4 separate regions of the Homo sapiens genome follow, and regions 2, 3 and 4 are each linked to region 1. The links are contacts of gene promoters, found by promoter capture Hi-C in blood cells and fetal thymus (Javierre and others, 2016). All regions are on one chromosome and are shown on one strand. The core of a region is centred on a gene start or on the middle of the fragment in contact, and the rest is flanking DNA. Distances in the headings are between cores, read along the strand shown. Region 1 holds the start of P2RY10 (P2Y receptor family member 10). Region 2 has its middle 89 kb from the start of RTL3. Region 3 has its middle 120 kb from the start of RTL3. Region 4 has its middle 65 kb from the start of RTL3.

Region 1 (7,226 bases), core at 2,640-5,139:
ATTCTCTAAAAGAGATCTTCACCTCCTGTTTTGCCCCCTCCTGCAATCCATTCTGTATACTATTATCTCCGTGATCATTCAAAGAATTGTAGAAAGGAAGCAGGCTGTTGAGCAAGGCACATATGAATTTGAATCTTGCCTCTCCCACTTCCTTGTTTACAATCTTTGGGAAGTTAATTAATTTCTCTGTGCTTGAATTCATTAATGCAGAAAATGGGAGATAATATTAGTCCCTACTCCATAGGATTGTTTGATGAATTAAATTAGATGATGTGGGCGAATTGCCTAGAATGGTGATAGGACATGGAAAGTACTCAGTAACTAATAATTTTATTTTCCCTCCTCCGACTCTGTTTATATCCTTTCAATTACTTCCTGTATTCCATGGCTTCTATACTCTAAGGCATTTTTGTAGAACTCCATCCTCCAAGCTTCTTTCCCTCTGTTTCCAGCATGCCTTATGGGTCAGACAAAATCTTGCCCTCATTCTCACACAAACAGTACATGTTTATTCTACATGTTTATTCTCCATTCATGTCCTCAGCAATATTCTTTCTCTCTCTTGGAATCTCTTGCCTTCTCTACTCTCTTTAAATTTTCTAAACTGCAGACACTCAAATGTTTCTCCACAGATTTTGTTATTTGCATACCCTCTATAGTTTTGTGGGGTTTTTGTGTAGTTTTTTGTGAATAATCACAGTATTTAAAATTTAGTTACCTACTTTAGCCTCCTCTTAAGAAATATTATCTAAGAAATCATAAATTTGTATGGATAATTTTATTATATTTTAAAGGTTTAAAATAAATATATAGCTTTAAATTTTTAAGCTTTTCTTTGTACCACCTAAAATAAAAAAATCTTGGTATGTCTCCACTAGGACATTTTATTCTCTGGGAAACACTGCTTAAAGCAAAACTTGCCCATCAAGAAAGGACCAGAAAACCTTCTCCAACAGGTTCAGCCCATGGTTAATTTATCTTCTTAATTTCCATACAATTTAACAGTCAAGTATGTACTGTGCTTCATTTTCTAACTATTTTATGAATAATTAACTTGTCACATAAACTGTAGACTCTTGGAGGATAGGAAACATATTTTTTGTTTCCCAAACTCAGCCTTCCTCCACAGCTTTGGAGAGATTTCTCATTGTTGTAGTTCATTAAGTATTTGTTAAATGATTAGTTTTCAAAAATGCATAGGAATACTCTGCAGATATATAATCAGACATGGAAAACTCTTGAAGGTATTTTACCTAAAGCAATTTAGCTTCACTAGTTCTAATTTAAAAAGAATTGAGGTTCACAGTTCACTCTGTCCTTTATTTTTCATTTTTGGATTCCACTATGTTCCAGAAAGGACTGAAAGTTGTTTCAAAGGAAGAATGTTATAAGAAGATAATATAAGTTAAAGTGGATAAAAAATAATAATGACAAAATTGGCAAAGACATAAAAATTGAGATATGATAAAAATGAATCCCACAAAGCACACCATAAAAAATCTCCACACTTGCTACCAGTAGATTCTATGTTGGTTCATGATTTTTAATCAGACTTTGTAAAAAGAGACACATGACCAATTACAAAGTCAGTATTCATAAAAATAAAATTTAACCATTTGCTTAGGAAAAACCTAGCTTCTCCTCATACTAAATCATATAGAGCTCTAGGGTTACCTAGGAAACACAATATATGGTAATGAATAACATTCTCAACAATAGCTATCACTCCTCATTTATTGATACTGTTAGAGAGAATTTAAAGCCTTTGAAGCACCAAATCATAAACTTTCCCCAGCCTATGGAAGACATAATTCATCATTTAAAGTAAACTTTGATGACATACATAAGAATAAGGAAAGAATTTAGAACTATTGGTAAAATAGTACAACTGCACTACTTTTAAGAATCTTATAATTAGGGTACTTATTACTTTGTTTTAGTTTATAATGATTTGTAAACCATAAGTCGTACCTAGTAACAAAAAGACTTTCTTTTAAAAGTTAATTGGAGATGACTGTTAGGTTATCAGCTTGCTTTGTTTCTCCACAGATTTGTTCATTATAATTGTATTAGTTTGTTTTCATGCTGCTGATAAAGACATACCTGAGACTGGGAAGAAAAAGAGGTTTAATTGGACTTAACAGTCCCATATGGCTGGGGAGGCCTCAGAATCATGGTGGGAGGAAAAAGGCACTTGTTACATGGCAGTGGCAAGAGAAAATGAGAAAGATGCAAAAGCAGAAACCCCTTATAAAACCATCAGATTTCATGAGACTTATTAACTACCAGGAGAATAGTATGGAGGAAACTGGAGGAAACTGCCCCCATGATTCTAATGAACTGCCTTCAAGTCCCTCCCACAACACGTGGGAATTATGGGAGTACAATTCAAGATGAGATTTGGGAAGGGATACAGAGCCAAACCATATCAATAATTAACACTCAAAATTTACCTGAGTTAAAATTTTTCATTTGAATTGGGACACTGACTTCTGGTTTTATTTTTCTTCCCTTTTTAGGGTCAGTGACAGAAGAAGCTGCTTGCGTGCAAGACAGAAATGAAGTAAACTGGTAGGTTTCCTTCTCGCAATGTGAAGGTTTTGTCTGTGAAATAAAGTTGGGATGTGGTGATCATAGCCAGTTGTAAGAAAAGGATTTCTTGTATTTCTGGATCCCAGGGTTTGCCTTCAAAGCTCAACAGGTCTGGAATTTTTTTGTTTGTTCAGAGAAGAATCTTACCCTAGGAAAACTGGCTCACACTAACCATAGGGAGGAACACAACTGCCAAATGGACTGAGATGTGTGTTGGTCTGTCAGTGTATTCTCTTTTCAGTAGGGATGCCAATTCAGAAACCTAAATTAACAAAAGATAGGAGCTGAATAAACATTTGAAATCAAAATTAAGAAGGGGATTGAAAGGCTAAACTTGTTTCATTTGACATACATCAGCCAGGATGATGCCAGTCTTCACAAGTTATGACATTTCCATCAATCATCCCAAGCTCTTAGTTTCCAATACTGTCAGCTTCTCTTTCCCTTACACGCCAACAGGGGTTTGTGCTGCATTTTAAACCTCGTTTCTCAAAACTACTCTCAGACTTAGTTGACACTGTAGTCCTCAAGTGTATGATCTTCCTGTATTCACATAGTTTTGAAGGCCCCATATACACTGTACATAAAAACCAGAATTTTAGTACACTGGAGGGAGACCCCGTAATCAATAATGTTCATTTACTTATTCATGCATTCTTTGAGCATTTGTTTATTTATTAATTCCCATATGTATTCATTCAATAACAATTCATGAAAATGCCTTGTGCTGGACAAATTGGGAATACAGATATGAATCAGACATGATCTTTACCCTCAAGCAGTGTGCAGTCTAGTAAAGGGATAATAAATATACAAAAATAATGAAACTATGTGTTAAATTGTGAGCCTCAAGATGAAGGGGTTGGGAGAGGGGCACTCCAGATGGAGGGAACAACTTAAGCAAAGGTACTTCTACTGTTTCTAATTTTGACTTGTATTTTTTAGGTTTCCTCAGCCTTTGCCCCTCAGGCTTGCACAAGCTGTAGCTTTCTTGTTACTAGGTAAACACTCTTTAGATTTTCCTGAAAATTTCATCTTACCATGGAACCTACTGGAATCAGTGAAAATCTAGATATGTCGGTTGTCAAGGAAGGAGATAGGGTGAGGAAGGCTGTTATATAGCCATTGTGTGAGTATGCATAGCCTCTGACTCCCTGCTATTTGAATTTCTCTGCACCAATGAAATAAAAAGAAATAAAATTTGAGTAACGTCATTTGCTCAAGGGACTTACCTTTCATTTGTGCAAATAAGGTTTCTGTGGTGAGACACCAGATAAACTCAACTTCCTCTTTCAACAACAAATGTGTCAGTTATCAGCAGGATCCATGCCGCCAGAGTAAAGCTTTCTACCCTTTACTCCCTGCAAAGAAACAAGAGTGCTTATCCCAGCTAAGCTCCAGGGTAAGTTAATGCCTAGCACCTGGGGATTGGTGGTTTCATGTGGGAAGATTGGTGTGATCATAAAAATCAGAACAGAGGTGGATGTGGGGCCAGTGTCTGTATTAAAATTGTCACTGGTTTCTCATCTCAGACATCTTACAACAGGAGCAAAGATAATTACTGTTGAGTTTGACCAGAGTCCAAAGTTAACGTTAATGCCATCAGTCCTCTTCATTATGCCAGGAGCATGGAGTCTGTGATGCAGCTCACTCTTTGATGAGGGCTCTTTAGAGAGTGGGACCAGAGAAGATGGCACAAAGTGGTAAGAAGAGTATATTCAGTGAGACTCATTGGGACAACTTGACATATTCGGCCAATAAAAGTCAATTTAATTTTTTATGGTGTATAATTTATCTAGCTGCATCGTGAAGGAAGATTTTTGGGTATAAAATCCTTGCTTTGGAAAATTTAGCTTTCAGAGATACTGAGACAAATAGTAGAAAGCAGGGTAATAGATTCTGGGGGCTGAAAGGGCCCATAGAGATCCAAATCCCTCACAATACAGTCAGGAAAACTGAGAGCCAGTGAAGTGAAGACACTTAGGTTCACTCAGCTTGTTAGTGGTATAGGTGGATCTAGGACCTGTGTCTTTAAACTCATGTTTGCCTTTTCCTACAGCAGTTTGCATCTCCCAGAGAATACTGTAAATTTATTTGTGACCCTGCCATTTTTTAGGATAGGAAAGGAGAAAGTATCCCAGATGACTTCAGAGTCTGGTCAGAGTGGTTCCTTGATCCTTTGAAAGCTAATTTTGACCGAAGTTCAGCCTTACTGGATAGCAAAGCCCATGAGTGAGGCACTCATTTTTTCAGTTATTATTGCTATTACTCTGAATACTAGCACCTCTCTCCTTCTGAGCTAAGATGACTAAATCAAAAGGAGACTTTCAGCTAAGGAGTCCCTGAAGGGAGACTGTGCCAAATCATTTGGAACCAGGATAAGGCTGGATAGAATGATACCAGATTTGGCTGTGCTTTCCAGGGGAGTAGGCTCAGTTCCAAGAATCCTGCAAGTGAGAATATTTTTATTTCAGTTGTTCAAATGGATGTGTGGAGTCATTATGATGTATATTAATTGGAGAATCTATCTCTTAGCAATTGCAGCACAGTAAAATTAACCACTTATGAAAGTAGGTGATATGCAGATATACTGAGGTGGAAAATGGTGTAAACTACAGTCAGAATCAGATCACACATTTGGGGCAATTGTTTTTGCAATGGTTCCTGTTGAACACAGATTCTTTGGCCAAATGCAGTTTATTTTGGGGCTCAACTGGGAAAGTTGTAGAGTTCAAGTTGTACAGACTACTCAAATCTGAAGACATCAAATGAATAAACACATTTATGGGTTGTTTTGGTTTGAAATAAGTGAGTTGGGGTTTTAAAAGACAGGCCAGCCTGCTGGGCTTGGTGGCTCACGCTGTAATTCCAGCATTTTGGGAGGCCGAGACAGGTGGATCACCTGAGGTCAGGAGTTCGAGACCAGCCTGGTCAACATGGCGAAACCCCGTTTCTACTAAAAAATACAGAAATTAGCTGGTTGCAGTGGCAGGCGCCTGTAATCCCAGCTACTGGGCAAGCTGAGGCTGGAGAATCGCTCGAAACCGAGAGATGGAGGTTGCAGTGAGCTGAGACTGTGCCATTGCACTCCAGCCTGGGAGACAGACCAAGACTCTGGCTCAAAAAAAAAATAAAAAAAAGATAGGCTGCCTATCTATACTATAGCTCTCTGTCATGGCTCAAGCAAAGAGAACAAAGCTGTTTATAGTAAAATGAGACTTTCTAAAAGCACTAACAATCAGGGCAATGGTTCCCCGGTGGTCTATGATTTATTTTAAAAGCTTTTGGCAAAAAGGTTTATTTATTCTTCAGATCAGTATATTTTGTGGAGAAGTTTTCTCCTAGTATCAGTTCATATACATCACAGGTAGAGTGATCAAATAGATAGATCAATACATAAGGAGTCAGAAGTCTGTGTTATAGTTCAAGTTCTGCCAATGACTGGTGTGGCCTTCGGTGAGTTATTTCATTTCTGTGCATCTCAATAATCTCATCTATTATAATGGGAGAGGGCTTGGAATAGATGGTTCCTAATTTCCTTCCTAGCAATCCAATGATTTGAGTTAGACTGTTAGATACCTAAGAATAGTTAAATGTTATGGAGTGGTGAATAATGGGGCCATAATAGGGAAATCTATCTAGAGAGGACATTCTGGAAATGTAGTTCAGATCTCCAAGAGAACTGAGTATCCTTTCCCAATTGCCATTATATTTCTTTCAGGTAATGTTATCATGACAGCTTCAACTTTTAGACCACAGGCAAATGCTTTGTAAGTAATTTCCCTTTTTTAAAAATGAGAAAATGCAAGACAAAAGATAAAACTTTCTGAAATCTAATTTCCACAGTGACAATGACACTCAGTTGGCATTTCTCAATCTTTTAAACCCAAGGTTCCCTTTGAGAAACGTAAACATTTCACTACAAGGTTACTGTGAACTTGCCTTCCTAGGGACCAGACCCTGGACTTGTAGAAAAATCTGCTCCATCACATTGACATTTTCCAAGTACTAAGTGCCCAACAGTTAAGAGGATTTTGTAGATCTGTACTTTCACAGTTTGTATTGTAGAAACAATAATGACATTTTTTATTTTGTTTTCCAAATATATTTGTTATAATAAGGAATATGTTTTATCAAGTAACACTTATTTTCTACCCTTTAACTTTAAAAATTACTGCTCTAGATATTCTAGTCCTCTGCTACAACTACACTTCTTAGGGGATTTTCTAAATCCAGAAATGTACAGGATCCAACCAAAGGCCCTTGGAGATGACTCTGTGTACAAATAAAGAGGAAATGAACTCACATTTATTTAATACTTATTGGGTATCAGACATGAAAATAGGTACTTTTACACACATTTTCTTTTTTTCATTTCTATTTCAATATTTTTTGAACTACAAGTGTTTTTTTCTGTTGCATGGGTAAATTATATAGCAGTAAATTCTGAGATTTTTAGTGCACCCACCACCTCAGTAGTGCACGTTGTACCTAATGTGTAATATTTTTATGCCTAGCCTGTCTCACCCACCCTCTTCTGAGTCTCTAGATTCCATTATATCACTCTGTATACCTTTGCATAATCATAGCTTATCTGTCACTTATAAGTGAGAACATCTATTTTTTTTATTTTT
Region 2 (6,924 bases), core at 4,181-6,680, 370 kb before region 1:
TTTGGTAGATACCCAGTGAGGGGATTGCTGGATCAAATGTTACATCTACTTTTAGTTATTTAATAAATTTCCATAGTGTTTTCTGTAGTGGTTGTACTCGTTTACATTCCACCAGCAGTGTAAAAGTGTTTCCTTTTCACCATGTCCACATCAACATTTATTATTTTTTGATTTAAGAAAGTATGGCCATTCTTGCAGGAGTGAGGTTCTATCACACTGTGGTTTTAATTTGCATTTTTCTGATAATTAGTGATGTTGAGTTTTTTTTATACCCTTGTTGTGTGTATATCTTTTGACAATTGTGTATTCATGTCCTTTGCCCACTTTTTGATGGAATTATTTTTTTCCTTGATGATTTGTTTGAATTCCTTGTAGATTCTGAATATTAGTTGTTTGTTGGATGTATAGCTCATGAAGATTTTCTCCCACTCTGTGGGTTGTCTGTTAACTCTGCTAATTATTTGTTTTGCTGTGCAGAAGCTTTTTAGTTAAATAAGTCCCATCTATTTATTTTTGTTTTTGTTACATTTGCTTTTGGGCTCCTGGTCATGAATTCTTTGCCTATGCCAATGTCTAGAAGAGTTTTTCTGATATCATCTTGTAGAATTTTTATAATTTCAGGTCTTATATTTAGGTCTGTGATCCATCTTGAGTTGATTTTTTATATGGTGAGAGATGAGGATCCAGCATCATTCTTCTAAATGTGGCTTGCCAATTATCTCAGCAGCATTTGTTGAATAGGGTGTTCTTTCTCCAGTTTATGGTTTATTTATTTATTTATGTATTGCTTTGTTGAAGATCAGTTGGTTGTAAGTATCTGGCTTTATTTCTTGGTTCTATATTATGTTCCATTGGTCTACATGACTCTTTTAATGCCAGTACCTTACTCTTTTGGTAACTATAGCCTTGTAGTATAGTTTGAAGTTGGGTAATGTGATGCCTCCAGATTTATTCTTTTTGTTTAGTATTGAACTCTGAACAGACCAATAACAAACAGCGAGATAGAATCAGTAATAAAAAAATTGCCAAAAACAAAAAGCCCAGGACCAGACAGATACACCAGTGAATTCTATTAGAAATTCAAAGAAGAATTGGTACCAATTCTACTGAAACTGTTTCAAAAGATAGAGAAAGAGAGAATCCTCCTTAAATTATTCTATGAAGCCAGTATCAACCTAACACCAAAGCCAGGAAAATACGTGACAAAAAGGAAAAGTACAGACAAATATCCCTCATGAACATAGATGCAAAAATCCACAACAAAAATACTGGCTAACCAAATTCAGCAATATATTAAAAAGATAATACATCATGATCAAGTGGGTTTTATACCAGGGATGCAGGGATGGTTTTATATACTCAAATCAATAAATGTAATGCATTACATTAACAGAATTAAAAACAAGAATTATATGATCATCTCAATAGATGCAGAAAAAGCATTTGACAAAATCGAGCATCCTTTATGATAAAATCTCTCAACAAAATTGGCACAGAAGGGACACAACTCAAAGTAATAAAAGCCATCTATGACAAACCGACAGCACTGAATGGGGAAGAGCCAAAAGCATTGCCCCTGAGCACTAGAATAAGAGAAGGATGCCCATTTTTATCACTTCTATTAAACATAGTACTGGAAGTCCTAGCCAGAGCAATCAGACAAGAGAAAAAAGTAAAGGAAATCCAAATTGAAAAAGAGGAAGTCAAAGTGTCAATGTTTGCTGATAATATGATTGCATACCTAGAAAACCCTAAAGACTCCTTTAAAAAGCTCTTAGATCTGATAAATAAATTCAGTAAAGTTTCAGGATATAAAATCAATGTACACAAACCAGTAGCACTGCCATACACCAACAACGACCAGCTGAGAATCAAATCAAGAACTCCATCCCTTTTACAACAGCTGCAGAAAAATAAAATACTTAGGAATATACTTAGCTAAGGAAGTGAAAGATCTTTATGAGGAAAACTAAAAAACACTGCTGAAAAAAATCACAGATGACACAAACAAATGGAAACGCATCTCATGCTCATGAACAGGTAGAATCAATTTTGTTAAAATGGCCATACTTCCCATACCAATTTACAAATTAATGCAATTCCCATGAAAATACCATCATCATTCTTCACAGAACAAGAATAAAACAATCCTAAAATTCATGTGAAACCCAAAAGAGCCTGCATAGCCTAAACAATACTAAGCAATTGCATTCTTTAAGCTATTTAAAGATATATAATAAAGTTATTACAGACTGTGTAGTCACTCTTGTGCTATCAATAGTAAGCCTTATTTATTCTTTCTATATTTTTTGTACCCATTAACCATCCCCACCTACCCTTCAGCCCGCTACTACTCTTCTCAGCCTTTGGTATCCATCCTTCTACTCTCCATGTTCATGAGTCTGTTTTTATTTTTATTAGAACTGATAAACAAATTCAGTAAAGTTGCAGGATACAAAATCAACATACAAAAATCAGTAGCATTTCTATATGCCAGCAGTGAACAATGTGAAAAAGAAATTAAAAAGTAATCCCATTTATAATAACCACATGTAAAATTAAATACCTAGAAATTAACTTAACCAAGGTGAAATATCTTTACAATGAAAACTATAAAACCCTAATGAAGGAAATGACCAAAAAATGAGTTTTCTATTTTGTTCCACTGATCTGTGCATATGGTTTTATGCCAGTACCATGCTGTTGTGGTTACTGTTGCTCTGTAGTATGATTTGAACTCAGGTGATTTCTCCAGTTTTGTTCTTTTTGCTCAGAATAGCTTTAGCTTTTCAGGGTCTTTTGTGGCTCCACATAAGTTTTATAGTTGCCTTTTCTCTTTCTGTGATGAATGTCCTTGATATTTTGATAAAGACTGCACTGTACCTATAGATTGCTTTGGGCAATATGAACTTTTTAACAATACTGATTATTTCAATTTATGAACATAAAATATCTTTCCATCTTTGTCCTCTTACATTTCTTTCATCAGTAAATTATAGTTTAATTGTACAGGTATTTTAAGTATTTGATTAAGTTATTTCATAGATATTTAATTTTACTTGTAGCTATTGTAAATGGGATTACTTTCTTGATTTCTTTTTCAGATTGTTTGCTTTTGGCATATTAAAAATGTTGTCAATTTTTGTTTGTTCATTTTGTATTCTGTAACTTCCTTGAATTTGCTTATTAGTTTTAATTTTTTGCTGGCATCATTAGATTTTTTCAAACATAAGATCCTATAATCTGCAAACAGGAATAATTTGACTTCTTTTCCAGTCTGGATGCCCTTTATTTTTCTCCCTTTCTGATTGCTCAAGCTATGACTTCCAGTCCTATGTTAAATAACAATGGTGATAGTGGTTATCTTTGTCATGTTCCCTATCTTAGTGGAAAAGCTTTCAGTTTTTCCCCAATCAGTATGATACTAACTGTGGGCCATTGTATATGACTTTTATTTTGTTGATGTAAGCTCCTTCTATACCCAGTTTTTTGAGGTTTTCTTTTTCAATCATAAAGAAATGTTCAATATTATCAAATGGTTTTTCAGCATCAATTGAAATGATCATGTGGTTTTTTTCCTTCATTGTGTTGATATATCACATTAATTAATTTGCATATATGGAACCATCCTTGAATCCCTGGGATAAATCTCACTTGGTTATGATGAATGTTCTTTTTAATGTGTTGTTGAATTCAGTTTGCTACTATTTTGTTGAGAATTCTTGCATCAATGTTCATCAGAGATTTTGGCTTTTTTTTTGATAAGTGTTTGGTTTTGTTATCAGGGTAATACTGATCTTGTAGAATGAGTTTGGAATTATTCCATTTACCTCTATTTTTTGGAATAATTGGAGTAGAATTGGTATTATTTATTTAAATGTTTCATAAAATTCAGCAGTGATGACATTGTGTCCCAGGCTTTTGTTTGCTGGGAGACTTTTCATTATGATTTCAATCTTTTTACTAGTTACTGTTCTATTTATGTTTTGGATTTCTTCATGGTTCAATCTTGGTAGATTTTATGTGTCTGGAAATTTACCTATTTCTTCTAGGTTTTCCAATGTGTTGGCACATAGTTGCTCATAGTAACCTCTATAAACCTTTGAGTTTCTGCAGAATTGGTTGCAATGTCTCTCTTTTAATCTCTGATTTTATTTATTTTGTCTTCTGTCTTTTTCTTCTCAGTCTGGTTAAAATGTTTTATTATTTTTATCTTTTGAAAATACTTTTTGTTTTGTTAATCTTCGTATTATTTTCTCAATTTTAATTTTCTTTATTTCTTCTTTGATCTTTATTTCTTTTCTCCTATGAATTTTCTCTTTCTGTTTTCATTGACCCACTGGTCATTCAGGAGAATATTGTTTAAATTCCATGTGATTATATAGTTTCCAAAATTATTCTTATTATAGATTTCTAGTTTTATTCCATTGTGGTCAGAGTAGATGCTAAATATTATTTAATATTTTGGATGTTTTAATACTTGTTTTGTGGCCTAACATAATAGTTTATCTTTGAAAATAATCCATGTGTTGAGAAGAATGTGTATTCAACACCCATTATATGAAATGTAAGTCTTTCTACATCTATCTCTTTCTTTACCTTCTCTTTAAGTCCAATACCTCTTAGATTTGCCCTTTTAAAAATCTACTAGGCGTGCCTCATTTTTTTTTGTTTCCTTTGTGTAGTTTTAAATAGCCTGTCTTAAAGCTCACTAATTATTTATTCTGCTTGATCAGTTCTGCTATTAGGAGACTCCGATGCATCTTTCGGTGTGTCACCCACATTTTTCACCTCTAGAATTTCTGCTTGATTCGTTTTAATTATTTAAATTCCCATGTTCGATTTATCTCCTGGAATTCTAAACTTCTTCTCTGTGTAATTTTGAATTTCTTTGAGTTTCCTGAAGACAGCTATTTTGAATTCTCTGCCTGAAGAGTCACCATATCTATGTCTCCCCAAGGTTTGTCCCTGGTGCTTTATTTAGTTTATTTTCTGAGGTTATGTTTTCCTGGATGGTCTTGATGCTTATGAATATTTGGTGATTTGGGGGCATTGAATAATTAGGTATTTATTGTAGTCCTCAAAGTCTAGGCTTGTTTGTACTCATTCTTCTTGGGAAGGCTTTCCAGGTATTTGAAGGGACTTAGGTGTTGTGATTTAAGTTTTTGGGCACTATATCTGTATTTCCATTAGTGGCACCCCAAGCCCAGTAACATCATATTTCTTGAAGATTTGTACAGGGACCACCTTGGTGGTCTTAGATAAGATCTGGAAGAATTTCCTGGATTTCCAAGAACAGACTTTTATTCACTTTCCTCACTTTCTCCCAAACAAACAGAGTCTCACTCTCTTTGCTGAGCTGCCTGGAGCTGGGGTGAGGGATAACACAAACATCCCTGTGGCCACCCCCACTTGGACTGTGCTGGGTCTGATCTGAAGCCTATACAGTACTGGACCTTGCCCGAGGCCTGCTGTAACTACTACCTGGCTACCACCTATGTTTGTCCAGGGACCTAGGAGTCTACAAATACCAGGTGGTTAAGCCAGTTAATCTTGTGTCCTTCCCTCCAGGAAAGCAAGTTCTTCTAGGCCCCTGACAGGTCCAGAATTGCCATCTGGGAGCTACTGCCTAGAGTCAGAAACCTTTGATTTTACCTGGTGCTCTATTCTATTTTGGCTAAGCTGGCACTGAAACCACACGACAAAGTTTTTCTCAGTCTTTCCTCCCATTTCCTCAGGCAGGGGTGTTTCTCACCTCTTCCACCACTACCACCAGTCCACAGGAAGTACTGCCAATGTTTCCTTAAAGCCCAAGGGCTTGTCAAGCAGTTTTTGCTAGGTCTGTGACTCACCTTCACAGCAGCAGCAGTGGTCTCCCCTCTTGCCCAGGGAAAGTCCAGAAATGCCATCCAAGATCAAAGATGTGGAATTGAGTACCCCAAGAGCGCACTTGGTGCTCTTTCCCAGTGTGGCAATGCTAGCGCCTAAGTTGCAAGAAAAAGTTGCCTTTATACTTCCTTCTCCTTTTCTCAAGCAGAAGGAGTCTATCCATCTTCATAGCCATCACAGCTGTGAATATGCTTGGTTACTCCTTATTCCAGCATCTCTCTGAGTCTCACCCAAGGCCCATGACATGTATTCTCTTGTTATCGGTGCTGATTATTCAAGGTCCAATGAGGGCTTTAATCAGCAGGTAACAAATCCTGTCAACTCGGTCCTTCCTTTCAAGAGAGCAGATTCCCTTCAATTTCAAGGTGTGTCTAGAAATGTCATCCAGGAGTTAGGGCTGGGAATTGGGGCCTCCTGTCTCTGCTTAGTGCCCTATTCTATTGTGGCTGAACTGGAATCCAAGTTGCAAAACAAAGTCCACTTCACTCTTCCCTCTCCTCTCAAGCCGAAGGAAGGGTTTGCTTTTGGAGCTGATGGCTGCACCTGGAGTTTGGGGAGGGATGATGTAAGCACTCCCTTAGCTGCCCTGGATAGTGTCTCGCTAGGTCATGTGACTCCCCTAGTCCAGCGCAGCACTATGAATTGCTTAGGAATTGCAGTCCTTCTGGCCTAGACAGCTTTTTAAGTTCATTTAGGATCCTAGAGTGCTTTAGCTCACAGCGGTGAGGCTTACCAAAACTCAGGTTTCAACTGCTAGGATGAGCAATTCCCCTTTGTATAGGGCTGGTCTAAATGCTCCCTCCACAGGCATCAGCTGAGTTCTTCCCAATGTTGTTAGCACTGCATTGCAATGTAAAGTTCCACATTCATTTTGCTCACCCTCCCCCAAATGCACAGATTCTCTCTCCATGCCATGAGGCCACTGACACCAGGTCGGGGGGTGGGTGGTGTTGGCAATTCAAGACTGTCCTTCCTACCCTCTTCAGTGCCTCTTTCAGTGATATGAAGTTAAAATCAGGTACTGCAATCTCTCAT
Region 3 (7,860 bases), core at 1,608-4,107, 410 kb before region 1:
TCTTAAAATGGCTTAATGGCAAAAGCAGTCTCTAATTTTATCTATTACTTCCTAAAATGGGGATGTAAATTTAAAAGTCTTACTCTCTGAATATGGGGAAGTAAAATTAGGGGTTAGTGGTGATACTTTCCATCATTTTGGGCACCAGAAAAATCTACTTTGACAGGAATACTGTCCCAGTGCTTGCCAATACCACAGCTACTGCCAGAAGGGCAGAAAGATCTTAAACAGAGAGTTTGACTAAGAGATTAAACAGAACCAGGAGGAGAGCCAGGAAATAAACAGTGCTAAGTGGTTCTTTTTTTTTTTTTAATGTAAAGGAAGATTGCCAGGAAGAATGATTTATGAGATGGAGATGGAGAAAAGAAAAATGAAATACAAAAGGTATATGATTTTCAGTACTTAACACTAAATATTTGGCTAATCCTGGGAAAGATAAACTTATGTTGTGATTGTTTGAGACAGACTGAAGGCACAGTTGCACTGGTCTCTATAGAAAACCAACTCCACATAAACTCATTTTCCAGGAATTGGTAAAAAGAAACAGTTTAACATGGGTTTAGCTTTATTATAACTACTCAATTATAGAAAGTAAACATTATATATGTTCAGTATGCTTTTTAAAAGAAGGGGCAAACTGAGCAAGATATTTAAAAATGTCCTATAAAATATTTTTATGGGCAAATTTTGATTCTTAAGGAGCTGAACTTTCTAGACAATTACATATTCGGAATACCCTTTTTCTGAAGACATTGGATATCTGAGCTGTTACATAATTTGTCCATAAACTTTCCAATCACCATTGGTAAGACTATCTCTTATTCTTATTTGTATTCTTAAGGAAATATGCCCTTACTGCATATTCCCCTTGAGCTGTGTATTTATTACTCCTTTCTCCTTCAATAGCTCCCCTTGTTAACTTGGGTATAGATTTACTACTAAGACTTTGTATTTTCATTCCCATTATTTTACTTTTCTACTACCTGGTTCTTAAAACTTGACATTACAGTTACTGTTGGAAAATGTTTTCTTAAATGTGTGAAATAGAGGCATGAAGCATCACTTTTCTGAACTCTGTTTCAAGGAGTTTATTTAAAAATAGATGCATATATAGTGGGATACTGTAATTAAACTTGAATAAATAGAAATTTGATTATATGCTGAATTCTGGCCAGAAACTTATATAGTTAAAAAAAGTTTAATTCTGAAGAATGTCAAATTGGTAGGTTTCTGTAGGCAAAAACAGGCAGTCTTTACTTTCTGCCAGCATCTGTCCCTGGATACTAAATATAAAGCAGAATGTGGTAAAAATTTTCTCATTGACATTATATTACACTTGAGGATTGAATTTATGACCAAAACATTGACACTGAATAGAGCTTATACTTGACAATCAGTATGTTAGGAAAAAAAGATACTAGAAACCTTTCTGGTTTTCAAAATAGAAATAGTATAAATGAGTATATAGTGTGCACATTTGACTATAAAATGTCAAAGTGTGTGAAGACATATATACTTAGTACTAAAATTTGTATTCAATATCAGAAATGTGACCTACAAGAAGCTTTCACAATTTCAGATATTCAATTATGCTTAAAATAGAACCATTCATTCTTTCACTCAACAAATATGTATTACTTACTATATGAAAGAGAGCATCCTAGGCTCATGTCATGGAACAAAACAAAAATCTCTGCTGTTGTGAAGCTCATATCCCAGTGAATGGAATGGAAAATAATTACACAAGTGAAATATGTAGTATGTAAGGTGGTGATAAGTTCTACAAAGAAACAAATAAAGCATGAAAAAAGAGTATGTAATAGTGAGAGGAGGCGTACATTTAAATTTTATATAAAGTGGATTAATTGAGAAGGAGAATTTTGATTTGAGTGAATTTCTGAAGAAGGTAAGAAAACAAGACATGAAGAAAAAAGAATATTTCAGATTAGAAGAGCATTAGTTATTATTTAGGCCTTATTTTACAGATTAAAAATCTGAGGCCCAAATTACTCACTCAGGCTGGATTCCTAATTCTGTCTTCTGGATGAGGATTTGTTTCTTGTGAAAAGCGTAATTTGAGCAGAAGCCAGAAATAACAGAAGTTAGTTTTAAATAGCAATATTTTCCTAGTCTGAAGCAATACTGAACAGGAGGTTTTAGCCTGGAAATTTGGGTCTGCTTTTTGTAGTTGAGTTAAATACGATGCTTCTGTAACTCCAAAATGAAGTCTGAGTTGCTGCAGAGAAGTATCATGGTTCTGCACTTATTTATGACAGGTCAAAATGACTTACAAACAATTTGGAGTGTGATCTCTAGTGCTAAGAAAAACAGCAAGAAAAGGCAACAATATCCTATGTCAAAAAATATTTCTGCAATATAGGATCAGGCTCTTAGATGGAAATTCTGGTTGACCAAATTGCCTGTCATGGTTTTTCAAGATTCAGATCTGAGACCAAGACTCTCCAGTGATGTCTGAATGTTTAAGATGTTTTCTAATTTAGAGAAAAACCTAGATTATTAAGCATAGTTTTTGCTTTTGGTGCCCTACAATATGTTTGGCATCTTGTAAACCTGGGGATAGCCACAAAGAGTTCATTCTTGGGTTATCTTTGTGATGATCACCTGTAGGCAGTTACTTTACCTTTGATTTTTCAAAAGCCACTAACAAGCCATGTGACCCTGAGACGAGTCCCTTCTACTGTTTGGATCTCAGATTCATCATCTGTACCATCAATAGGGTTGGGCTATAATTTCTAAGAGGACTTACAATACTGAAATTACAGGATTCTGGTTTTATTCAAACGAGAGATATTCTTTTTAAGAAGATTAATAAAAACATACTTTATAATTCCCTGGAAATTAAAAAAAAATACCATACACAGAAACACTCTTCTACCAATGTTGTTTACCCAATTTAGGCCTTTATGTATGTTTTCTTCTGAATAGCTATAATGATTTGCCATTCTAGATCAGTTATTCTTTTTTGTTTTTTTTAAGACAGAGTCTCACACTGTCACCCAGGCTGGAGTGCAGTGGCCTGATCTGGGCTCCCTGAAACCTCCGCCTCCTGGGTTCAAGTGATTCTCCTGCCTCAGCCTCCCAAATAGCTGGGATTACAGGCGCCTGCCACCACATCCAGCTAATTTTTTGTATTTTTAGTAAAGATAGGGTTTCACCATGTTGGCCAGGCAGGTCTCGAACTCCTGACTTCAAGTGATCCACCATCCTTGGCCTCCCAAAGTTTTTGGATTACAGGCATGAGCCACTGCAGCTGGCCTATATCAGTTATCCTTAATAAAAACTTTTCTTGTGATAGTTTGCTGAGAATGATGGTTTCCAGCTTCATCCATGCAAGGACAAAAAACCAAACACCGCGTGTTCTCACTCATAGGTGGGAATTGAACAATGAGAACACTTGGACACAGGAAGGGGAACGTCACACACCGAGGCCTGTTGTGGGGTGGGGGGAGGGGGGAGGGATAGCATTAGGAGATATACCTAATGTAAATGACGAGTTAATGGGTGCAGCACACCAACATGGCACATGTAAACATATGTAACAAACCTGCACATTGTGCACATGTACCCTAGAACTTAAAGTATAATAAAATATATATGTATTAAAAAAACTTTACTTATATCATTCTCTTGCTTAAATTGGCAATGGCTACCCATTGCCAGTAGGACAAAATTAAAAACTCATCTTTTAACTCAAGGCCATCTTCAATTATCTTTCCTGCCTTATCTCTTACCATAATCCGTCACTCTCTAGATACACCAGAATACTTGCCTTTGTTTAAATTTACTATATACTTCTATCACTTTGCTCTACCTTTCACCTGCTAAATTCTTCAGGATCTGCTCAAATGTTAGCCAGTCCCAGGGGCCTTGCCAAATCTCCCCTAGGCCAAATGCAGAACCCTTCCTTTGTCCCACTTCTTGTCATTACATATAATCTCGTTTTGCCAGCATTTCTCACCATCTTCCTTGAACTAGTTACCTGTTTCCTTGCTTCTCTCCATGACTACAGCACAGAGTTTATGCCTTTGTCATTTGCAATACCTTCCCTGACCTCAGCCTCTAGTTCATGTCTTGTATAAAATAGTTCATTGATAGCACATTTTTTAATTCAATTAAATTATTCTCTACATAAGCTTGGCACATAGAGTACTTCCAGTGAACACGAAAGCCTCATTGACCTGGTGGTATTGAGGATCATGGAATTTTCCCCTTTAAGTACTAAAACATTGGAACATTTAACTATTTTAGGTGGCACTCTAAGATGTATTACATTTGTTTTCCTGCTTAAATAAACAGATAAATGGATTTGAACAAAAAAAAGTAATCTTTTTGTTGTTTGATGCAGGGTCCTTAATAGCCACATAAGTGGTGCAATGCTGTTATGCTGTGATCTCCTCTTAGATTGCTTTGTGGTTTGCCTAACTGTGACTCTGGGTTAAACTGATCCACAATTTCAGGTCTCAATTTAATGACACTACCATGTCATTTTACATATTGTCAGATACTGATTTTCGTTGGGTTTATCCATGATCATATCTGTAGTCTTCTGTAACAGGCCAAACTGAGAGATGCTAGGAGAAAACAGATAAAGAAGAAATTTATTTAACTAGAGACATTATGTTTTTGATATAATGCTAAGTCAATTGTCTTTGAGAAAAATTGGCAGACTTGACCATATCTTTATCTTTGGATAGAGACGATTCCTCCTGAATTCTAGTTTTGTGGCTGCATTCCAGATGAGTGAGGTTGTTAGAAGCCTGACCCCCCACTCCCAGATAAGCATTACCCTGCTTGACTGATGAGTGATTCTGCACTACCCAGATATTTCCCATGAATAAATAACATTGTGGAGGTCTAGCTTTTAATTTTCTGAATGGAACAAATGTCACCTTTGTCATCTACCCAAAGCAAGTCCGATAAAATAAAAGGATAATGTTCATTACATTTTCCAAAGCAGCTTCATACTATTTTTTCTAAGCTATATTTCTTGTCTTCTGCTTTGATGTTTCTATTATTTCTCTTTCAACTTTTATTTAGGTTCATGGGCTACATGTGCAGGCTTTTTAATGGGTAAATTTCATGTCTCTGGGATTTTTTATACAAATGATTTCATCACTCAGGTAGTGAGGATAGTACTCGATGGTTTTTCAACTCTCACCCTCCTCCTACCCTCCACCGTCAAGTAGGCTCTGGTGTCTATGTTCCTCTCTTTGTGTACATGTGTGCTCAATGTTTAGCTCCCACTTATAAGTGGGAGCATGCAGTATATGGTTTTCTGTTCTTGCATTAATTTGCTTAGGTTAATGGCCTCCAGGAGCATTTATGTTGCTTCAAAGGACATAATTTCATTTTTTATGGCCAAATTTTTGTTTGCTGGTTTAAATTCCTCTGGATTTTGCATATTATAACTTGGTCACCATTCCATGGATAATCTGGTCACCATTCCATGGTGTATATGTACCACATTTTCTTTATCTAGTCCACCATTGATGGGCATCTAGATTGATATCATGTCTTGGCTATTGTGAATGATGCTGTGATTAACATATAAGTGCAAGTGTCTTATTGATAGAATGATTTATATTCCTTTGGGTGTATACCCAATAATGGGATTGCTGGGTCAAAAGGTAGTTCTGCTTTGAGTTCTCTGATGAATCTTCCAATTGTTTTCCACAGTGACGGAACTAATTTACATTCCCACTGGTAGTGTATAATAAGCATTCCTTTTTTCTGCAACCTTGTGACAATCTGTTATTTTCTGACTTTGTAATAATAGCCATTCTTACTAGTGTGAGTGAGAAGGTGTATTAGTCTGTTTTCATGCCTCTCACAATCATGGCAAAAGGCAAGGAGGAGCAAGTCACATCTTACGTGGATGGAGGCAGGCAAATAGAGGGCTTGTGTGGAGAGTCTCCCATTTTTAAAAAACATCAGATCTCATGAGACCTATTCACTCTCACGAGAATAGCATGGAAAAGACCCACCTCCAGGATTCATTCATTCACTCCCTTGTGGTCCCTCTCACAGCATGTGGGAATTATGGGAGCTAGAAGATGAGATTTGGGTGGGAACACAGAACCAAACCATTTCATTCCACCCCGGCCCTTCCCAAATCTTGTATCTTCACATTTCAAAACAAATCATGCCTTCCCAACAGTCCCTCAAAGTTTTAACTCATTTCAGTGTCAACTTAAAAGTCCACAGTCCAACATCTGATCTGAGACAAGGAAAGTCCCTTCTGCCTATGAGCCTGTAAAATCAAAATCAAGTTAGTTACTTCCTAGATACAATGGGGGTACAGGCATTGGGTAAATATAGCTGTTCCAAATAAGAGAAATTGGCCAAAACAGAGGGCCTACAGGCCCCATGCAAGTCCAAAATCCAACAGGACAGTCAAATCTTAAAGCTCCAAAATGATCTCCTTTGACTCCAGGTCTTGCATCTGGGTCACAATGATGTAATAGGTGGATTCCCATGGCAGCTCCGTCTCTGTGGCTTGGCAGGGTACAGCCTTCCTCCTAGCTGCTTTCACGGGCTGGCATTGAGTGTCTGCAGCTTTATCAGGTGCATGGTGCAAGCTGTTAGTGGAACTACCATTCTGGGGTCTGGAGAATGGTGGCCCTCTTCTCACAGCTCCATTAGGTGGTGCCCCAGTAGGGGCTCCCAACCCACATTTCCCTTTCACACTGCCCTAGCAGAGGTTCTCCATGAGGATCTCACCCCTGCAGCAAACTTCTGCCTGGGAATCCAGGTGTTTCCATACATCTTCTGAAATCAAAGTGGAGGTTCCCAAACCTCAATTCTTGACTTCTGTGCACTCACAGGCTCAACACCATGTGGAAGCTGCCAAGGCTTGAGGCCTGCACCCTCTGAAACCAAGGCCTGACCTATACCTTTTTTCCTTTCAGCCATGGCTGGAGTCGCTAGGACACAGGGCACCAATGCCCTAGGTTGCACACAGCATGGGGACCCTTGGCCTGGCCCGTGGAACCACTTTTTCCTTCTAGGCCTCCAGGCCTGTGATGGGAGGGGCTGCCACAATGGTCTCTGACATACCCTAGAGACATTTTCCCCATTGTCTTGGGGATTAACATTTGGCTCCTGGTTAGTTAGGCAAATTTCTGCAGCAGGCTTGAATTTCTCCTCAGGAAATGAGATTTTCTTCTTTATTGCATTGTCAGACTGCAAATTTTCTGAACTTTTATGCTCTTCTTCCCTTATGAAACAATGTTTTTAACAGCACCCATGTAAAATCTTGAATACATTGCTGCTTAGAAATTTCTTCCACCAGATACCCTAAATCATCTCTCTCAATTTCAAAGTTTCAAAAATCTCTAGGGCAGGGGCAAAATGCTGCCAGTCTCTTTGCTAAAACATAACAATAGTCATGTTTTTTGATCCATTTCCCAACAAGTTCTTCATTTTCATCTGAGACCACCTCAGCCTGGATTTAATTGTACATATTGCTATCAACATTTTTGTCAAAGCCATTCAACAAGTCTCTAGGAAGTTCCAAACTTTCCTTCATTATTCTGTCTTCTCCTGAGCCCTTCAAACTGTTCCAACCTCTGCCTGTTACCCAGTTCTAAAGCCACTTCCACATTTTTGGGTATCTTTTCAGCAAAACCCCACTCCCAGTACCAATGTACTGTATTAGTCTATTTTCATGATGCTGATAAAGACACACCCGAGGTTAGGAAATTTACAAAAGAAAGAGGTTTAATGACTTACAGTTCCACGTGGCTGGGAAGTCATCACAATCATGGCAGAAGGCAAGGAGGAGCAAGTCACATCTTACATGGATGGCAGCAGGCAAAGAAAGTGCTCTTGCAGAGGAAC
Region 4 (7,005 bases), core at 683-3,182, 350 kb before region 1:
TATTTATAAATAAGGACTTACTCCTGCCACTTTGTAATTTGTTTTCTGGTTGTTTTGTGGTCTTCTCTTTCTTTTTTTCTTTTATTCCCGTCTTCTGCTGGTGAAGATAATTTTCTCTGGTGATATAATTTAGTTTTTTGCTTCTTATTTTTTGTGTATCCATTGTATGTTTTCTGGTTTTAGGTTATCATGAGGCTTGCAAATATTATTTTAGAACCCATTATTTTAACCTCATACCAACTTAAGGCTACTTGTGTAGAGAAACAAACAAACAAAAATAAACTAATAAAAAACTCTTCTCAACTTTGTCCCACTTTTGGTTGTTTCTATTTATATCTGATTGTACTATGTCTTGAAAATATGTTATAGTTACTATTTTTTATTGGTTTATCATTTAGTCTTTCTACTTAGGGTAAGAGTAGTTTACAAACCACAGTTCAGTGTTATAATATTGTGTATTTTTTGTGTACTTACTATTTCCAGTAAATTTTGTACCTACAGGTGATTACTTATGGCTCATTAATGACTTTTTTTTCTGATTGAAGAAATTATCATTTCTTGTAGGATAGCTCTGGTATTAATAAAATCCCTCAGCTTTTGTTTGTCTGAGAAAGTTTTTATTTCTCCTTCATGTTTGAAGAATTTTTTCAGATATTTTATTATATGATATATGGTAACAGTTTTTTTTTTCTTCCACACTTTAAATATGTCATGCCACTGTCTCTTGGCCTGTAAGACTTCCACTGAAAAGTTTGCTGCCTAATGTAACGGAGCTCCTTTGTATTTTATTTATTTATTTTTTCTCTTGCTGCTTTTAGGATCCTTTCTTTATCTTTGACCTTTGAAAGTTTGATGATTAAATGCCTTGAGGTAGTCTTATTTTAGTTATATCTGCTTCGTGTTCTATAACCTTCTTGTACTTGAATATTGGTATCTTTCTCTACATTCGGGAAGTTCTCTGTTAATGTCCCCTTGAAAAAACTTTCTATTCCTATCTCTTTTTCTACCTCCTCTTTAAGGCCAATAACTCTTAGATTTACCCTGTTGAGGTTATTTTCTAGATCATGTAGATCTGATTGTTTTTTTTTCTTTTGCCTCCTCTGGCTCTGTGTTTTCAAATAGCCTGTCTTCAAACTCACTGATTCTTTCCTTCCTTGATTCATTTTGATATTAAAGACTCTGATGCATTCTTCAGTATGTCAAATGTATTTTTCAGCTCCAGAATTTTTGCTATATTCTTTTTAGTTATTTCAACCTCGTTGTTAAATTTATCTGATAGAATTCTGAATTCCTACTCTGTGTTATCTTGAATTTCCTTGAGTTTTCTTAACAGAGCGATTTTGAATTCTCTGTATGAAAGTTCACATGTGTCTCTTCCTTCCAATTGGTCCCTGGTGCTTTATTTAGTTTATTTTTTGAGGTCATAATTTCCTAGATGGTGTTGATGCTGGTAGATGTTTTGTGTCTAGGTCTTCAAGAGTTAGGTATTTATTGTAGTATTCACCGTCTGTGCTTATTTGTAGCTGTTTTTCTCTGGAATGCTTCCCAGCTATTTGAAAAACACTGGATGTTGTGATCTAAGCTATTTCTGGTGTAGGCGGCACCCCAAGCCTGGTAATGCTTTGGTTCTTGAATACTTGTAGAGGTACCACATTGATGGCCTTGGACAAGATTTGGGGGAATTCTCTTGATTACCAGGCAGAGACTTTTGTTATCTTCATTTACTTTCTCTTAAATATACAAAGTTTCTATCTCTGTTCTGAGCTACCTAAAACTGGAGGTGGAGTGACACAAGCACCCCTGTGGCCACCACCACTATGAATATGCTGAGTCAGAACTTTTATTAGTCCATTCTCACACTGCTATGAATAAATACGTGAGACTGGGTAATTTAGAAAGGAAAGAGGTTTAATTGACTCAGACTTCTGCATTGCTGAGGCGGCCTCAGGAAACTTACAATCATGGCAGAAGGCAAAGGTGAAGCAGGTACTTTCTTCACAGGGCAGTAGGACTGAGTGAGTGCAAGCAGGGGAAATTATAAAACCATCAGGTCTCGTGAGACTCACTCACTATCATAAAAACAGCATGGTGGAAACTGCCTCCATGATCCAATTACCTTCACCTGGTCCTGCCCTTGTCACATAGGGATAATGGGGATTACAATTCATGATGAAATTTTGGGTGGTGGAATTCAACTAGTATATGACCTTCCTCTAGGATACTTGACGAGTAAAGGAAGAACACCTCAAGTGCACATGTGTATAACTTCAGTAAACACATTGTGCATGTGACTCCTCCCACATGCTAACAGGTCATTGTGCATATGGACAGCCCACCCCAAGGGAAGAATCAGGGGATAATTAATGCAACCCCAGAAACATGCCAACATATAAGACCTCAAGTCAAAGGTCAAATGACACACTTGACTCTCTCAAGTCGCTCTTTTGGCCCCCTTGCAAGTGTACTTTACTTCCTTTCATTCCTGCTCTAAAAATTTTTAATTAACTTTCACTCCTACCCTAAAACTGGCCTCAATCTCTCCCTCTGCCTTATGGCTCTCAGTTGAATTTTCTTCTGAGGAGGCAAGAATTGAGGTTGCAGCAGACTTGTATGGATTTGCCACTGCTAACACTAAGACTTGCCTGGGTTGCAGTCCTTATGGCCTAGACTGCTTTTCAAGTTTAGAGACAGAGGACACTTTCCCTCTCAGTGGCAAGGTTTGTGGGCATTCAGGATTGGACTTCTGGGATTAGCAATTCTTCTCTGGCTAGGGCTGGTTTAAACGTTTCCTCTTGGGGCAGACATCAGCTGAGTTTGTTCTGGTTTTCTTTTCTGCTCTAATAGGACAGCACTGAGATCCATGCCTCACATTTACTATGTTCTCCCTCCCTCATCACCCAGAGAAGCTCTCTGCACCACAGAGCTGCTGCCTGGGGTGGTGGAGAGATGGCATTGGTGAATCGGGACTGTTTTTTTCTATCTCTTTAGTGTCCTTTTTGGAAATACGAAGTTAAAAACAGGTACTATGAATCCTCACCTGATTTTTGGCTCTTATGGAGGTTTTCTTTTTTCTTTTCTTTTTTTTTCTGGGTAGATAGCTGTTTACTTGGTGTTCTTGCAGAGGGAACAATCCTTGGAGTCTTCTATTCTGCCATCTTGCTCCACCTCTTCCTTTTCTACTTTTTTGATATAGGCATATATTGCTATAAGTTTTCTTGTCAGAACCGCAGTTACCGTATACAATAGTGTTGTGTTTTTTTTCATTCGTTTAAATAAATTTTTAAATTGTCTTCTTAATTTCTTTAGTTATCCACTGTTCACTCAGAAACAATGAAAAAAAATTCCATGTGATTGTATAGTTTTCAAAATTCCTCTTGTCATTTATTTCTAGTTTCATTCCATTGTGGTTGGAGAAGATGCATGGTATAATTTTACTTTTTTGAATGTTTTAAGACTTGTTTTGTGGGTTAATAGATGATCTGTCCTTGAGAATGATTCATGTGTTGAGGACAAAAATGTGTATTCTGCAGCTGTTGTATAAAATTTTTTGTAAATATCTATTAGGTCCATTTGATTCGCATTGCAGATTAAGTTACATGTTTCTCTGTTTATTTTCTGTCTGGATAATCTGTCCAGTGCTAAAAGTGGAGTTTTGAACTCTTCAGCTTTTATTATTTTGTAGTTTGTCTCTCTCTTTAGCTCTAATAATATTGGTTTTATACATCTGGTTGCTTATACATCTGGTTGTTTATACATCTGGTTGCATATATTTGCAATTGTTTTATTCTCTTGCTGTATTGCTACCTTTTTCATTATTTAATGACCTTCTTTGTCTCGTCTTATAATTTTTGTCTTGAAATCTATTTTGTTTGATATAAGTATAGCTACTCTTGCATTTTTGGTTTCTGTTTGCATGGAATATCTTTTCCTATCCCTTTATTTTCATGCTGTGTAGGTTGTTGGGGCTTGTTTTATTTAATTCATTCAGTCATTCTTTGACTTTTTTTTGGAGCGTTTATTCCATTTACATTCAATGTTATAAGTAAGGACTCACGTCTGCATTTTCTTATTTGTTTTCTGGTTCTCTTTTGGTCTTCTCTTTCTTCTTTTCTTCCTGTTTTCCTTTGAGGAAGATGATTTTCTCTGCTGGTATGTTTGAGCTTCTTGCTTTTTATTTTTTGTCTATCCGTTGTAGATTTCTTTATTGGAGGCTACCATAAGACTTGCAAATAACATCTTACAACCCATTATTTTAAACTGATGACAAGTTAACACTGATTGTGAAAACAAAGAACCTAACAAACAAGCAAGAAGAAAACTAATAAGTGTGTGCTTTACCTTTGTCTCCTTGATTTTTCACTTTTTGTTCTTTCTTTCTATACCCTATTGTACTGTATATATCTTCAACAGTTGTTGTTATTATTATTTTTGATTGGTTCATTTATTCACCTTTCTACTTGAGATATGAGTACTTTACATACCACAATTACAGTGTTATAATATTATGTGTTTTTCTGTGTACTTATTGTTATCATCAGTGAGTTTTGTCCCTTCAGATGATTTTTTATTGCTCATTAATTTCCTTTTCTTTCCAAATGAAGAATTCCCTGTAGCATTTGTTGTATGATAAGTCCAATGTTGATAAAATCACTCAGCTTCTGTTTGTCTGGGAAAGTCTTTATCTCTCCTTCACATTTAAAAGATGTTTTCCCCAGGTATACTATTCTATGGTAAAAGTATTTTTCCTTCAGCACTTTAAATATGCCATGTCACCCTCTTCTGGCCTGTAAGGTTTCTATTAATATGTCTTCTGCCGCATGTACTGGAGCCTTTTTTTGTTATTTGTTTATTTTCTCTTGCTGCTTTTTGGATACATTCTTTATCATTGACTTTTGGGAGTTTGATTATTAAGTGCCTTGAGGTGGTCTTCTTTGAGTTAAATCTGCTTGGTGTTCTACAATACTCTTGTACTTGAATATTGATGTCTTTCTCTATGTGTGGGATGTTATCTGTTGTTATTCCTTTAAATAAACTTTCTAGCCCAATCTTTGTCTCTACCTCTCCTTTAAGGCTAATAACTCTTAGATTTACCCCTGTGAGACTATTTTCTAGATATTGTAGGTGTACTTTATTCTTTTTTATTTTTTTCTTTTGTCTCCTCTGACTGTATTTTCAAATAGTCTCTCTTCAAGCTCACTAATTCTTTCTGCTGCTTGATCAATTCTTCTGTTGAGAGACTGGTGCATTTTTAAGTATGTCAGTTGCATGTTTCAGCTGCAGAATTTTTGCTTGATTTTTAAAAAAAGTATTTCAATTTCTTTTAAAAATTTATTTGATAGAATTCTGAATTCCTTTTATGTATTATTTTTAATTGAGTTTTCTCTGACACAGCTATTTGGAATTCTCTGTCTGAAAGATCACATATGTGTCTTTCTCAGGTTTGATCCCTGGTGCCTTATTTAGCTTGCTTTGTGAGGGAGGTCATGTTTTTCTTGATGACCTTGAAGTTTGTGGATGTTCATTACTGTCTGGGTATTAAAGAGATAAACATTTATTATAGTCTTTGCAGTCTAGGCTTACTTGTAGCCATTCTTCCTGAGAAGGCTTTCCAGATTTGAAAGTAATTGGGTGTTGTGATCTAAGCTGTATCTGCATTAGGGGGCGCCCTAAGCCCAGTAATGTTGTGGTCCCTGGAGACCCTTAGAGTACCTTCATGGTGGTCTTGGAAAAGATCTGGAAGAATTATCTGGATTATTGGGCAGAGATTCTTGTTTTTTCCCTTACTTTTCCTTTAACAAATGGAGACTCTCTCTGTGCTGAGATCCCTGGAGCTTGGGGAACGGTAATACAAGCACCTCATTGGCCACCACCACTGAGATACTACCAGATGAGCCCTGAAGCCAGTGTAAGACTGGTTCTTACTCAAGGCCTGCAGCAACCACTTCCTGGCTACCACAGATCTTTACTCGAGGCCCAAGTGCTCTTCAGTCAACAAGTGTTTAATCCAGCCAGGCTTGTGTTTCTTACTTCAGAGCACTGAGTTCTCCCCTGGCCCAGTGGAGAGGGGACAAGTTGTAGTGACATAGGGTATAATTCATACATTTATGGTTAATTGATTTTCAACAAGGGAGCCAAGAAAATTCAGTAAGGACAAATATAGTCTTTTCAATAGGAGGTGCTGGGTCAACTGGCTATCCAAATTCAATGGACTACTACCTCACCCTATATATAAAATTTAGCTCAAAATGGATTAAATACCTGTATATAAGAGCTAAATTTTTAAAACTCTTAGAACAAAACTTAGGGCATATCTTTGTGACCATGTGTTTAGCAACGAATTCTTAGATATAACACTGAAAGTACAAGCAACAAAAGGAAAAATAGATAAATTGGATTTATCTATTGAATCACCACTTTGGTGATTCAAAGTGTTTAATTTTGATGAAATCCAATTTATCTATTTTTCAAAAGGACACTGTTAAGAAAATGAAAAGTAACCCCACAGAATGGGTGAAAATATTTGCATAATAATATTTCTGACAAGGGTCTAGTATTCAGAGTATACAAAAACAAACTCTTACATCTCAACAAAATATAGGCATTTCCCCAAAGAAGTTATAGAAATGGCTAATAAGCACATAAAAAGCTCTCAGTGTTAGCAGTCAATAAAGAAGTGCAAATCAAAACTGGAATGAGATAAAGCTTTATATCCACTTGTATGAATAAAAACAACAGCCAAAAACTAATGTTAGTGAGGATGTGGAAATATTGGAACACTCATACACTGCTGAAGGAAACATAAAGTGGTGTGACCACTTTGAAGAACAGTTGGACATTTCCTCAAAAAGTTAAACAGAAGGTTATCATATGGCTCAACAATTCCACTCCTTGGCATTAACCAAGAAAATATATGGAATTGAAAATATATGTCTACACAAAGAGTCATGCGAATATTCATAGCAAAACAAAAAACAAAAAAACACATACAACCCACATGTCCATGAG

Evidence for each region. Contacts are between HindIII fragments. The CHiCAGO score rates a contact against its expected background, and 5 or more counts as called.
Region 2: a fragment that was not itself captured here is called in contact with the fragment with the promoter of P2RY10 in region 1 in 3 of 17 cell types (megakaryocytes, activated CD4 T cells and M2 macrophages); the score reaches 8.2 in megakaryocytes.
Region 3: a fragment that was not itself captured here is called in contact with the fragment with the promoter of P2RY10 in region 1 in 5 of 17 cell types (total CD4 T cells, activated CD4 T cells, non-activated CD4 T cells and 2 more); the score reaches 7.3 in total CD4 T cells.
Region 4: a fragment that was not itself captured here is called in contact with the fragment with the promoter of P2RY10 in region 1 in 1 of 17 cell types (megakaryocytes); the score reaches 5.3 in megakaryocytes.

Annotation. Positions count from the first base shown.
Region 1 is chrX:78,941,502-78,948,727 of GRCh38, forward strand. P2RY10 (P2Y receptor family member 10) reads left to right here and starts at 3,890. Exons shown (of 4, transcript NM_014499.4): 1 at 3,890-3,994; 2 at 6,314-6,362. The HindIII fragment of the contact is 3,107 bases long and covers 827-3,933 here.
Region 2 is chrX:78,566,548-78,573,471 of GRCh38, forward strand. No RefSeq gene overlaps it. Among named protein-coding and RNA genes, the nearest start is that of RTL3, 89 kb to the right of the region's middle. The HindIII fragment of the contact is 4,074 bases long and covers 3,394-6,924 here.
Region 3 is chrX:78,532,313-78,540,172 of GRCh38, forward strand. No RefSeq gene overlaps it. Among named protein-coding and RNA genes, the nearest start is that of RTL3, 120 kb to the right of the region's middle. The HindIII fragment of the contact is 2,590 bases long and covers 1,563-4,152 here.
Region 4 is chrX:78,590,399-78,597,403 of GRCh38, forward strand. No RefSeq gene overlaps it. Among named protein-coding and RNA genes, the nearest start is that of RTL3, 65 kb to the right of the region's middle. The HindIII fragment of the contact is 9,536 bases long and covers 1-6,700 here.